Linked DNA regions of Homo sapiens: region 2 is linked to region 1. Evidence: promoter capture Hi-C in 16 types of primary human blood cells and fetal thymus (Javierre and others, 2016). All regions are on one chromosome and are shown on one strand. Each heading gives the region's core, a stretch centred on a gene start or on the middle of the fragment in contact. The rest is flanking DNA. Distances are from core to core; before and after follow the strand shown. Region 1 holds the start of CCN2 (cellular communication network factor 2). Region 2 overlaps CCN2-AS1 (CCN2 antisense RNA 1).

The links. Contacts are between HindIII fragments. The CHiCAGO score rates a contact against its expected background, and 5 or more counts as called.
Region 2: a contact is called between a fragment that was not itself captured here and the fragment with the promoter of CCN2 in region 1, in 1 of 17 cell types (endothelial precursors). The highest score is 5.0, in endothelial precursors.

The regions. Positions count from the first base shown.
Region 1 is chr6:131,946,373-131,952,989 of GRCh38, forward strand. CCN2 (cellular communication network factor 2) reads right to left here and starts at 5,000. Exons shown (of 5, transcript NM_001901.4): 1 at 4,735-5,000; 2 at 4,398-4,620; 3 at 3,920-4,171; 4 at 3,577-3,788; 5 at 1,804-3,188. The coding sequence starts at 4,800. The coding sequence ends at 2,892. The region is part of intron 2 of CCN2-AS1 (CCN2 antisense RNA 1); the gene reads left to right. The HindIII fragment of the contact is 12,519 bases long and covers 2,142-6,617 here.
Region 2 is chr6:132,080,688-132,088,266 of GRCh38, forward strand. All of the region lies in intron 2 of CCN2-AS1 (CCN2 antisense RNA 1), which reads left to right. Among named protein-coding and RNA genes, the nearest start is that of MIR548AJ1, 31 kb to the right of the region's middle. RefSeq lists an enhancer at 4,636-4,815. The HindIII fragment of the contact is 3,866 bases long and covers 962-4,827 here.

The DNA of each region.
Region 1 (6,617 bases), core at 3,750-6,249:
GTAATGTTGAACATTTTTTCATATACTTGTTGGCCATTTGTGTGTCTTCTTTTGAGAAACATCTGTCTGGTGACCTGCTCAATTTAGATTCCACTTCCAGGAGTATGAGGATCTTCTCCTGGGAGGCAGCCCTGGCTTGTAAGCTTTGTTGGAGTGCTAGGCCAAACCCCTACTAGATTCAACAGCTGCTGTCAGCCTGGCCTTCTATATATCTAGTGACTACCTGCTGGCTGTTTGAGAGCTCTCGTGTTCTCAGAAGCATCAGATACCTTGTTGTTTCTCTGCTTTTCTCACACATGTGCTGACACGGTGCAGATCTTACGGTGGTTGATGATTTGGCACCCCCTACCTCCGATATTTGGGGGGTGAAAGTGTGCATTGCCATCTAATTTTTGTAGAAACATTGCCTGTGGGATTTTTGTTTTGCAATCTAGTGACTCTTTTTTTTTTCTTTAATGTGGGTATTTGGAAAATGTGAAATCTATGCTTTTCCTGCTGCTTCTATATTTCCAGAATGCTCTAATTCAGTAGTCAGTCTCGTTTATCATGCATGGCCCTTCATCTTTGCAGTTAGGAATTAATTGACAGAAAGGAAGTGTGAACTAACAGTGTACTCTGTGTGTGTGCCTATGTGTATGTGTACATGCGCATTTATTTGGGGAGGTGGGGTGCTGCTCCTGGCAGCACTGCTATATACAGATGTGGGTGTATCCTTAAAGCCCAGAGTTTTGACCATAAATTTTCACATTCTGAACACGGGAAGTTTTCCCTTTGGTTTGTGGTGTGGACAGTTGTTTGTAGAGCTAGTCTTTATTTTCAGGTGTATTTTTGTCTGTCCAAATGACATTGGCACTACAACGTTGCTAATTACCTTGGGAAAAGTTAGTCTGTCTGCAATTTTTTTTTCCCCTAGAATCCTCAGCTATCCTCATGTGGAGAAGATTCTAGTTGCCTTTGGTGTATTGCTTTTGTTTACCATTCACTTTGGTTCACTCTTTAGTAAAAACCTACCTGGGTAGGTACAATATTGTTTCCACATGAGGCTTCTTGAACAATTCCATTTTCTCATGTATAAACCACTTGGTAAGGTAGGATGCATTAATCTGGAAGTCTGATAAAGCTAAAGACTTGGGCAAATGGAGGAATTACTTTCAAAACAAATTTCTATTAATGTTAATGAATGGAAGATTTGCTCATCCTCCCTTTTCTATTTATGCCATCTGTTTGTCATTGGTTATCATGGCAACCAAAAACGGAATTATACAAAACAAGACTTATGAAATAGCTCCATTTAAATGAGGATTTCATTTCATAATTTTCAGATTTAACAGTAAGGTAATGAAGTTCAGAAACAGACCTAGAGCATAAAATTTTTAAAAAATGTAAACATTTTCCACGTGCAAGGCACATAGACTAGTTTGTGATGTGAAGGGTTGGAAACTAACCTATAACGGCCAGAGAGGTACAAATGCCAAAAGGACCAAGTGTAATACAACAGGGTTAATGGAGACTGAAGTAATCTAGAGAGAATTGAATTTAAAGTGTCTATAAAGTTCTGTGAAGATAACAAAAAAAATGGCTGTATAGTCAATGTGGTGTGTATGCCTGCAAGTCTGTGATACTTGATTCAGTGTGAAGTATGTTTACATAAAAATTCTATGGAATAATCAATTTATTAATGTATAGAATAATTAAAGATATTTAGAAAATTATTGGTGAATTATCTTATGATTAATAAGAACTTCCTATTTATGCTCAAGAAAACTCAGAAATGTTTAGAAGGATAAATGAATAACCAAGCCCTTTATAGAAAAAATATACACTTTATTTTCAACTAGAAAGGTGCAAACATGTAACTTTTGGTCACACTCTCAACAAATAAACTGTCCGAAAAACAGTCATATCAAAGTAGAAACAAATGCTTCCAGGTGAAAAAACTGATCAGCTATATAGAGTCACTCAGTTTTTAATAAAGGCCATTTGTTCATTAAAAGTGAGGCTACCACATTTCCTACCTAGAAATCAGCCTGCCAAGGACACTGATGCCTCCCCTTTGCAAACAATCTGTTTTGACGGACTGTCATTCTATCTGAGCAGAATTTCCATATAAGTATCCATTTCATGCTTTGAACGATCAGACAAGCTTTACATTCTACCTATGGTGTTCAGAAATTGAGGCTAACATTGAAATATCAAAGCATTAAAAACAAAAATAAAAAGGCACAAACAACTTTAAATTAACTTAGATAACTGTACATATATATATATATACACACACACACACACACACAATATTTACAATATAAATTTTAAAAAATCTGGCTTGTTACAGGCAAATTCACTTGCCACAAGCTGTCCAGTCTAATCGACAGGATTCCGATTCCTGAACAGTGTCATTCGAATCAGAATGTCAGAGCTGAGTCTGCTGTTCTGACTTAAGGAACAACTTGACTCAGTCTCTTGATGGCTGGAGAATGCACATCCTAGCTGTCACTGGGGCTACAGGCAGGTCAGTGAGCACGCTAAAATTTTCCTTCTCAATTACACTTCAAATAGCAGGCATATTACTCGTATAAGATGCTATCTGATGATACTAACCTTTCTGCTGGTACCCTCCCACTGCTCCTAAAGCCACACCTTAATATACATTCTGGTGCTGTGTACTAATGTAGTTCCACTGTCAAGTCTTAACATTCTTCAAACCAGTGTCTGGGGTTGATAGACTATTTGTTTGACATGGCACAATGTTTTGAATTGGGTGGGAATCTTTTCCCCCAGTTAGAAAAACAGATTTAAATAACTTGTGCTACTGAAATCATTTTTACGGAAAAATGAGATGTGAATCAGTTCAAGTTCCAGTCTAATGAGTTAATGTCTCTCACTCTCTGGCTTCATGCCATGTCTCCGTACATCTTCCTGTAGTACAGCGATTCAAAGATGTCATTGTCTCCGGGACAGTTGTAATGGCAGGCACAGGTCTTGATGAACATCATGTTCTTCTTCATGACCTCGCCGTCAGGGCACTTGAACTCCACCGGCAGGGTGGTGGTTCTGTGGGGGGTGCAGCATCGGCCGTCGGTACATACTCCACAGAATTTAGCTCGGTATGTCTTCATGCTGGTGCAGCCAGAAAGCTCAAACTTGATAGGCTTGGAGATTTTGGGAGTACGGATGCACTTTTTGCCCTTCTAAGGAAGACAAGGGAAAAGAGAGAGGAAAAAAAAAAATCAGCGACTCTACAAGAGGAGTGGCTTTCTTCAACCCTCTGTGTTTTAGTCTTCTGTTGTCTGACTTCTGTTTATATTTTGAGGGGAGGAAGTTTGAGTCTCATTTGCTATGTCCAAAAATAGCCAGAGCCTCTCTTGGAATGTCTTGAATTAACTAACCCTGTGGAAGATTTCGTAGTGGAAAACTGGTGGTTGCTATTACACAAGCTCTCATTCCAGCAAAACAGCTCAATGGTTAGATAGTTTTGGAGATAACGGGCTTATACTAACAAGCGTGGCAAGAGCCCTAAGTTGGGTCCTATCCACTGTTTTTCCTGTGAAAAATAGTTAATAGGAGCAGAACATGTACCTTAATGTTCTCTTCCAGGTCAGCTTCGCAAGGCCTGACCATGCACAGGCGGCTCTGCTTCTCTAGCCTGCAGGAGGCGTTGTCATTGGTAACCCGGGTGGAGATGCCCATCCCACAGGTCTTGGAACAGGCGCTCCACTCTGTGGTCTGGACCAGGCAGTTGGCTCTAATCATAGTTGGGTCTGGGCCAAACGTGTCTTCCAGTCGGTAAGCTGCGAGAGCAGAGCACACAAACACCATGTAAAACGCCTGGATAAGGTATTTCCCCCGTTCGGTCGGCACAGTTAGGACTCCCTCCCTGGGAGAGAATCACGACCCTGACTTAGAGGAAGACTCGACTCACCCGCGAGGGCAGGCCCAACCACGGTTTGGTCCTTGGGCTCGTCACACACCCACTCCTCGCAGCATTTCCCGGGCAGCTTGACCCTCCTCGGGAAGGGGCAGTCAGGGCTGGGCAGACGAACGTCCATGCTGCACAGGGGCATGCAGCCCACCGCCCCGTCCAGGCACGTGCACTGGTACTTGCAGCTGCTCTGGAAGGACTCTCCGCTGCGGTACACCGTACCACCGAAGATGCAGGGAGCACCATCTTTGGCTGGAGAAGAGGAAGGGAAGAGAGGGGTGGGGGATGCAGAGGTCAGGCATTGGGGCACTCTCACATCCAGAGCGTCAGGGATGCGAGTTGGGATCTGGGCTGCAGGGGGCGGGCTGGCAGCAGCTGGAGAAAGAAACTCAGTCCGAGCGGTTTCTTTTTCCAGCGGGCGGGTGGGCGTGAGGGAGGAGGCGGCCGGACACCTAGCGGTGGGGGCTGCGGGTCTTACCGGTGCACACGCCGATCTTGCGGTTGGCCGGGGAGCCGAAGTGACAGAATAGGCCCTTGTGCGGGTCGCATGGGTCGCGCTCGGTGCACAGCTCGCCCAGCTGCTTGGCGCAGACGCGGCAGCAGCCGCAGCCGTCCAGCACGAGGCTCACGCCCGCCGGGCAGCGCGGCGCCGGCTCGTCCGGGCACCGGCACGGCCCGCTGCAGTTCTGGCCGACGGCCGGCTGCAGGGAGGACAGGGCGGTCAGCGGCGCTCGGTCGGCGCGCACGCCCTCCCCGGCCGGCCCCGAGTCCCTCCCTGGCAGCCGCCGGCCGCAGCGGGGGCTCCCGGCGCTTACCCGGCTGCAGAGGGCGAGGAGGACCACGAAGGCGACGCGGACGGGGCCCATACTGGCGGCGGTCATGGTTGGCACTGCGGGCGGAGCGGAGGGCGCGGTGGCGGCGAGCGGGGAGCGGCGGGGCCTGGAGCGCTGGCGGTGGTCGGAGGTGGGGACCGGGACGCGCCGGGCTGTCGTCTCGGGGCTGTCGGCCGGGGCGGCTGCCGTCGAGCTGGAGGGTGGAGTCGCACTGGCTGTCTCCTCTCAGCGGGGAAGAGTTGTTGTGTGAGTTTGGGGCGGGCGGCCCGAGGCTTTTATACGCTCCGGGCGGCCGCGGCTCGCCAATGAGCTGAATGGAGTCCTACACAAACAGGGACATTCCTCGCATTCCTCCCCACCTTCCTGCCTCATCAACTCACACCGGATTGATCCTGACCCCTTGACACTCAGCATTCCTCCGTCTGAAAAAGCTGGCACACTCCAGCTCACAGAAAAAAAAAAAAAGGAAAAAAAAAAGCGCAGTATTTCCAGCACCAAATAGAATTTTTTTTTCCCTATCCTCTTCGCACCACTCCTGATTCATATCATTTATAAACACACTGGCAATTATTTCTTATTTCTTTTTCGAATAAGTTTGCCCTGTTCTGTCCACTGACATACATCCTTTTTAGGAAGTAGGTAGCTGAAGAGGCAAACAGCAGGAATTCCTAAAAAATTCGAAAAGGTTTCTCCCCCCCAACCCTTAGCAATGATTTGCGTTTTAGAGGCTATAGGCTCTTGAAACTCTCCAAAGAGTAGAAAAGGAGTGAGTTGCTTTTAACCATTTGAAATCCTCAAGATGCCTACCTGTAAAACCCTGAATTCTATATTTGAGATTTGATCATTTGTCACTTGAGGTAACGGTTTTGGGACAAGAAAGAGAACAAAGACGCGTGTGACTCAGGATGCAGTCTCCTGGGGCAGATTTCCAAAACTCTTGCTTAGTTTTCTCTTAATATATGTAGGAGTTTTATATAGGCAAGGACAAGGGAGGAGTGGCCATCAATGTTTCCAGAAAAAGGGATCCATTGTTCTATCAGAGCAAATGATTCTGTGTTGGGTAGGTAGGGGCTCTGGGTGTCAGGGTGGGAACACTGGGATGCAAAGGGGGTTCACCTAGGAGCATTTAAACACAGCTTCACTAGGGTCTTTGAGAAATGAGTGCATTTTCTTATATTAAAACCTATAATCTTCAAATGTGGATTGGATTTGGTTTGTCTTGTTAAAATAAGAAGTCTGATTCCATTACAAGAGCAGTGTACCCTGTTGTATCTGGATATAAACTAAGATTGACAGTGAATAATATATTTTTAGTGACTCCCCACACATCTATGAATAGTGATTGTGACTTCTCATTACCCAAGGAACATGCAGCCTGAGGGAGTGAGGTCAGGACAAGGAAAGAATAGGCTTTATTCTCCCTGGGTGTGTGCAGATGTTGAATATGGCCAATAAACCTAAGCATATCTCCATTTCTTAATATAGTGCTACTTAGCTTCACTAAAGACCCAACTAATTCACTGTGCTTTCATTTGGAATCTATGTTGTTTAGTGGCTTTTTTGTTAATACCTCCAGTTCCCATTTTATATAAAGAGAGTGATTCTAGGGCCATACCATTTTTGTATTCTGTAATGCCGCATCATTTGACATTGGTGTTACCAATGAGTAGATTCCTTTAAGTTGTTGATGCTTCAGAGCATGGGTTCAAGATAAGCATATCTGTTTGTGGTGCAAAGATCGGCTTTAGAAACAATGCATTATAGATTTATCATTTGAAAACAGCCTGTTTAAACTGATCAAATTTTTAAAGTTTCAGTACAGTCTGTTGAAAAATAGCCAAGAAGAAATATAACCACTCCAACTT
Region 2 (7,579 bases), core at 1,645-4,144, 130 kb after region 1:
CCCTTTGTATAACCCCTCCCCAACCCTTTCTCAATCTTCTGCAATCAGCTTCTACTTACGTTCAGGGTCCAGCTCAAGTCTTTCCTTCGCCATGTCTAATTCCCTGACAACTCTTGACTTCCTATTTGTTCTTTTGCTGAGTCCTAGTACACATATTATTAGTGTCACAGTCACAACCTTATTTCATCTCTCCTTGCCCTGTTTTATTAATTTTATGTACACATGTAAACTCTTTGAGGGAAGTGATTGTGTCAAAACCTCTGAGTCCCCTGCAAAACCAAATAAAATGCTAAGCACATAAAAGGATACTCAGCAATATTGCTTATGAGAAAATAATAAAGGTTTATTTTTTAATGTTTTATAGACCTCTTCACTGATACCGTTTATACTCATTTTTTTCTCATTTTGTCTTCTCCAAAAATTAAAAATATTTGTCAAACTTCTTATGACCTTTCATATCTTCATGCTATGTCTTTACCAAATGATATCCTAAGTTGTCTGAAAGGACATTTTGTCTTCCTGTTTGGAAACTTCCTCCACATTCTTCCCCGAGACATCAACACTTCTTTTGGAAACACTCTTTGTATGGTTTCCCTTCTCGGCATGCAAAAAGCACAGTCTGTATGTTAAAGGGTTTTCACAACTTTTACATTGTGGTATGTCTGAAACCCAGGAAACTATATAGCCACGATGAAATAGATAAACAAGGAGTATACTGAAGATACTCTTAGTGGAGAGACTATTTTCCCAACTTTTCATTTAGAGATAAAAAGTGAAATGAGTAAAGGACTGAAAGATAACCTGTAAGTTTCAACCAGCACTTTTCCAGGTATAAGAGAGAATGTGAAATTGCTGACATTGGTTTTTAAAAGTTTAAACAAATAAAAGGAAATAGTACCTGTAATAGTGGCTTTTAACTGAAATTAAGATCAAAGCTCATCCTTCCCAAGTATAAAGTGCAAGCTTTCAAGATTGTTCTAATTTTTATATAAGACAACTTACTAATTATTGTCTGCTTTTTACTGGCTCATACCTCTCTGTGCAGTTACATCCATTTGAAATGTCTGTATATGTGGGGGAAAAGCATATTTTAATAGCTTTTGCTTGTAACTTGGTAGTATGACTATTTTCAGTTATTTCCATTTGTTTAGCAGCCGAACTGCTTTAATATTAATTAGAAAGGTCAGTCTATTATTCAGATCCCCACATGGCTTTATACACCGCACCTTCTAACATGACTTACTGTACTTCTCATCTATCATAAGGTACCATGTTGTAGGTATTTGGTTTCTTGATTTAAAACCTAAAGAGTTCCAGATTTTAAATGATCTCTGTCTACTTTGACAAGGGAAAATGGACTAAAGGTGTCTCTTTCTATTTTTCTTTTTCTTTTGAGACAGAGTCTCATTCTGTCGCCCAAGTTCAAGCAATTCTCCTGCCTCAGCCTCCCAAGTAGCTGGGACTACAGGCGGGTGTCACCATGCTCAGCTAATTTTTTTTGTATTTTTAGTAGAGGTGGGGTTTCACCGTGTTAGCCAGGATGGTCTCGATCTCCTGACCTCGTAATCCACCCACCTCAGCCTCCCAAAGTGCTAGGATTATAGGCATGAGCCACCGCGCCTGGCTGCCTTCTCTTTCTATTTTTTGTATGAGGAAACTGTAAAGGTAGACTGACCTCCAGTATGGATCTGGGTCACTTTGAAACTCTGCCTTTACATTTTCTGCTTTCTAATTATTCTGCTCTTCGAATTTCCATTGTATTTTTTAAAGACACGTGGGTCAAGATGGCTTTTGATAAAGAATTTCTATTCTTTAGATTTAGACTTTATAGGTACATGAGTCAATATCATGAGTACAATGATTAACCACATTGTATGTAATTCTCAAAATGTTTATTTTATTTGGATATTTTGGTTGCAGATGGCACAGCCTTACTGAGTAATTAATTGGCCAGGAGAAAAATGACCTCTTAGGGCTGGATTGATGAGGGTCATGCTAAACATCCCAAATGCCATGAAACAGAAATGAGCTCACTTCAATAGAAATTATTTGAAGAGTATATTGAGATTAGGGGAAAATAGTCATGTGTATATGCTTGTTATAGGAGCAGAGTCAACTTTATAAGCATTTTAATAGCCACTTTGTGTATCTGCTAGACCTGGGTGAGGATGATAATTATTAATAACATGGATGCTGTCATTGAAAGGAAAGAGGAAAGTAAAAGCAGTTTAGAAGATTCAATTTAAAAACAACTTTGTTTAGATACTCTATTAACTTTATGTAAAAATTTCAAGTGCCTGAAATAAAACCTTTGTGTGTGCAAGTCATTAGGGTTTGATTGACACAGTCAGATTGAACTAGCAAAACAAACTTAGTATGTTGCTTTTTTGGAATGTTTCAAGACTCCAATACTACTACTGCACTTATATTTCCCTGATTTTGGATAGGTTTATGTTTCTTAGACCAAGAGCCAACTGAAAAACTCTTAGGATAAGTGTTCAAATAATTTCCTATTTATGATTTCAAGAAAAATGTCATTTGTTACAGATTACAGACATAGCTATTTGGGGGGTATCATTAGAAATCTGATTTTTACTATAAATATGGGCCAGCCTATAATTCAAAACTCTTTATCATACTGTTCAAAATCAAACATCATTTAACATCATTTTTGTGTGTTTAGATATTTCTATATATCATCAGCTCTGAATACTTTCTTTATTCTAACATGCTTCAAAAGATCCAGAATTACTAAAATGGTATACATTCAGAAATGCACACAGCTTACAACCTTCTAATGGCAGAACTAGGGACTCAGGTCAAAAAAAGAATTGCAGTCATGCAAAAACTGGAGATTACTGTCATGTGCAGCTGAGTTTGAGATATGGCAATCTTGGGGAAAGGTAAGTTTTATCTGACTTTAAAGGACATAGAAACTCTTTAGAATCATATTTTGTTACTACAATCAAGAGACATAAAATTTTATCAGGGGCCTTCTCCTTATCTTGTAGCAGGAATGAGAAATATTTCTACACTCAGAAATCAAAACCTCATTATCCCCTCTACAAATATCTGATAACTTACGATAATTAAACCAGGAAATTTTATAATTGTAGCTGTCTTCATGTATTTGTTTCTTACATGCTGCATTGGTTGGTATCCATTCAACAAAAAAATCTGTTTAGGTAATAATACATACAGATCATTTCTCACATCTACATTTCCTTGTATAGGAGAAAAAGAACAAGTCTATCTTCTGAAACTATGTTCCTGTGATGATTTTTTTTTGAGACCGATTCTCACTCTGTTGCCTAGGCTGGAGTGCAGTGGCACAATCTCAGCTCACTGCAACCTCTGCCTCCCAGGTTCAAGCGATTCTCCTGCCTCAGACACCCGAGTAGCTGAGACTACAGGCATGAGCCAGCACGCCCGGCTAATTTTTGTATTTTTAGTAGAGACAGGGTTTCACCATGTTGGCTAGGCTGGTCTTGAACTCCTGACCTCAGGTGATCCACCCACCTTGGCCTCCCAAAGTTTCAGGATTACAGGCATGAGCCTCTCGGCGCAACCCTCTTCCTGAGATTTTTTATCAATGCTATGGATTCAAATTCATGCCTTTTATAATGTGCTTCCACTTGCTTCATGTTGTTGGCCCTTTCTAGGTGTCCTTCTGAACAGACCTTCACATGGATGATATTTGCTCCGGGAGAATGCAGCATGAACACACAGATTTGGTCACAGTAACGAATGCTCCTTTGAAGACCAGCTGAGGAGGCCGGGTGCGGTGGCTCACGCCTATAATCCCAACACTTTGGGTGGCTGAGAAGGGCAAATCACGAGGTCAGGAGTTCGAGACCAGCCTGGCCAACATAGTGAAACCCTGTCTCTACTAAAAATACAAAAATTAGCTGGGTGTGGTGGCAGGAACCTGTAATACCAGCTACTCAGGAGGCTGAGGCAGGAGAATCGCTTGAACCCGGGAGGCAGAGGTTGCAGTGAGCCGAGATCGTGCCACTGGACTCTAGCCTGGGTGACAGAGCAAGACTCCAACTTGAAAAAAAAAAAAGCTGAGGAAAGAAAGATATTATTTTAGCACGTTATTATTACTGATGTCACTTCCTCCTTCTTTGTTTCTTTTGCCTTTTTCTCATATGAAACATCATGTCATTCCTAAAGAGGAGAAACTCACAGGTCAAAAATGTAAGGCTTTCTCTGTGTCTGAGAGGAAAATGTTGTCATTTAAAATAAAATACCTCCTACCAAGCAGAACAGCCTTCCTGAGTATTTCATTCCTGGGACTGTTTGCATTCTTTCTCAGTGAGCTACAGTGATAGGCATCAGAACCTATTTATAACAGGAAAGAAGAGATATTAAACTATTCAGTGCTATGTTAAGAATAAAACCCTCAAGTAATTGGATGGAATTTCTATGTGCCTCTTCCCAGCAAGCATCCCTTACCCTTTTGGGGGAGACATGGCTATATGTCAGGCCTGTGAGAACCCAATGCAGGAACAGCATGTGATATGAAAATGGAAACTGTCAGATTGAAACCATACATGGCGAAGTCAAAAAGAGACTCTTTCTTGCACTGTTTCAGAGGTATGCTGGGGTTATTTCAGTGCTGTAAGAATAAATAGAACTTGAGGCACTTTGGAGGATAATGTAAAAGTATGTGAGAGGACTCTGCGAATTTTCCCAGGCAACATCTCCCAGCCAATTGTCTTCTAGCTTTCACTCTGACCTTAGAAAACATGATTGCTGTGCAATAGGGTCTGTGCCTTTTGTAAGCGCACCCAGACTGGCCTGCTTGTTTAAAGACATGAGGGAAGCTTCTGCCTAATACTGTGTTCCTTAGGATTGTGAGGACAGAAGTACCAAAACCAAACAAAAAGAAACCAACAAGACAACCATGAAACTCCAAACACAAGACAACATTGTAAGTTACTGGATAACTAACGATAAACTACACAAAATCATAGAATGCATGACCAGGGTAGGAAACTAAAAAATCCTCAGTCCAAGCTCCTCTTTAGCAAAGGAAGAGAACAAGACAGAAACTAAAATACCTTGCCCCATAACCTGGCCAATTATAACAGAATTGAAATCACTTCTTATAGCTTCCTGTCTCTGAGTGCAAGGATGCCTTTCATTGGGAAACGCAAATCAGTAACAGAATTACAAATGGAAAGCATGTCACGTGGTGGTGCTGCAATGTGTCCAATCCTTTGGCAGTCCCTAGACCTCCCAATTCTGCAGCCCCTGTAGCTATGCAGCAGCCACAGATAAGCCACGGTGTCTTGGTGGTGCAAGTACCCAGGCTTGGGACAGCCCCAGGAAGAATAAAGTAACCGGGCATTTTTAGGGATAAAAATAGCCATTCAAATTAAAGAGAGGGTGGTGCTGGTGCCGTGTAAAATAGACAAAGATACAAGTTTAGGTAGTAAAAAAAGATGATTGATGGGAGGTGACAGTCTTTCCCTTGTATTATTTATTTGTCTAGCATTGAGATGTCCTCTTTCAATTACACTGGCTTTTAATACTATGAGAATTGGCTGTTTAATAGCAAATTTTTTAAACTCTGGAATATGCCTTTCTAGCTGAAATTGTATATGAGAAATACACTTTTTTCTATAAAAGTATTTATTTAAGTTGATATTCTGGCTTTCCTGTAGAAACAAAGTCATGTCCACGTGGCCCTCAGTGTCCCAGAACTTCAGTATGGAGGATGGTGCTTTCTAGTGCTTGCATCTCTTCTTCATGCCTGGGCATGACAGAAAGAAACTTTTCTTCTAATTCACACTGCTAAGCCATCAGACCTACATTAGAAAATAATTATTAAATCTATATCAGTCTGTGTTATGAATTTGGGTCTTCAGTCTGTTTTCCTAAACTCTCCTTTTTGGTAACTTGATACAGCAAACATGTTCAGAATGAAGGAGAAAGGAAAAGCTAGATCAACCCTTTGGTTATCCTGGGTTTTATCTTAGCAGATTTTTGAGTGGATCAAATGAAATAATACATGTAAATTTGCTTTGGTAAACTTTAAAATGCTGCAACAATTTAAGATCCTATAGTGACTTTAAACATTAACTCGAGGAAGTTTGTTTTAATTGACAGTGTTAAAATATATAAAGAGATATATACGTATCAGAAAATAATAAGCCCAGGCATGATGGCTCATGCCTGTAATCCCAGTGCTTCGGGAGGCAGAGGTGGAAGAATCACTTGAACCCAGGAGTTCGAGACCAGCCTGGGCAGCATAGTGAGACTTCATCTCTGACAAAAATTTAAAAACCTAGCCAGACATGATGGTGTATGCCTGTAGTTCCAGGTGCTTGAGAGGCTGAGGCAGGAGGATACCTTGAGACTACGTGTTCAAGGCTGCAGTGAGTCTAAGGCACATCAGCCTTAGTGACAGAGTGAGGCCCCATTTCTTAAAAAAAGAAAAAAAAGAAAGAAAGTATACTAATGGCACATGTGTTGCACTAGTAGCCAGGCACTGACCTCAGTATGCATACTGATTATCTCACTTGATCTTATTAACCTTGTAAGGGGAGTACTATTATTATTATTATTTCCACTTTAAATGTGAAAGTTAAGGCTCAAAAAGATCATACAACTAATAAGTGGCAGAGCCACAGACATTTATAACTCCAGAATATATGCTTCTGACCACTAGGCTCTAATACATGAAATAGAAGTGATATATTTCATTGTACTGTAAAAACACTTCGTATATAACTTTATCATTCTGCTGATCATATGCTAAGCATATCAAGTTTTGTTTGGTTAGGCTTTCTTTCATTTTAATGACAAATCTTGGAAGACAAACTATGCTATGTTCTTTATGAAGGGAGCTCAGAACAAAATAGGCTGTCATTAACTGGCAAACACCAGTGATTCATGTGAAAGACTATTATCTTTGGTGAAAGAAGGAGTGCTAGGCTAAGGACCGGGAGCCAGGAATCTGCCATTTCCTGGCTGTGAAATTTATGTAAGCAATATTACTGGAATACATAGCCTACACATCCTTTCTAGCTCTGAAATTCTATGGTTCTCTTATAGAGCCCTTCAATTGAAGATCAGGCATTGTCTATGTAAAAGGCGCATGTAATTCAAATCACAGGGAAAAATGTTTTATACTTGGTTGTGTTGATGGCTGTACAACTCTGTGACTATACTAAAAGCCATTGAATTGTACACTTTAAATGAGTGAGTTTTATGGTATGTGAATTAAATCTCAATTAAACATATGATAGCATATAATATAAAATAAAACACGCACACACACAAGTACCATCCTCCCATTTAAACATTATTTGTCATGAAAGCAGCAGCAGCCAATTGATATTAAAATGAATAAAGTGAAATATTAAAGTAAAAATGTAATAATATGTAATACAAATTACTCTGATAATTGTCAGTGTGATATAAGAAAAGATTTATCTCATGAAGAAAATAAATATGGTATGCTTTCTGGAATAGAGCTTTGAACATCTCTTCTCCAGAATTGCCCCTAATATCAGCTTTAGTGCAGGGCTGATGCCACAGAAATTGTTCGTTATGTTCAGTTGCACTT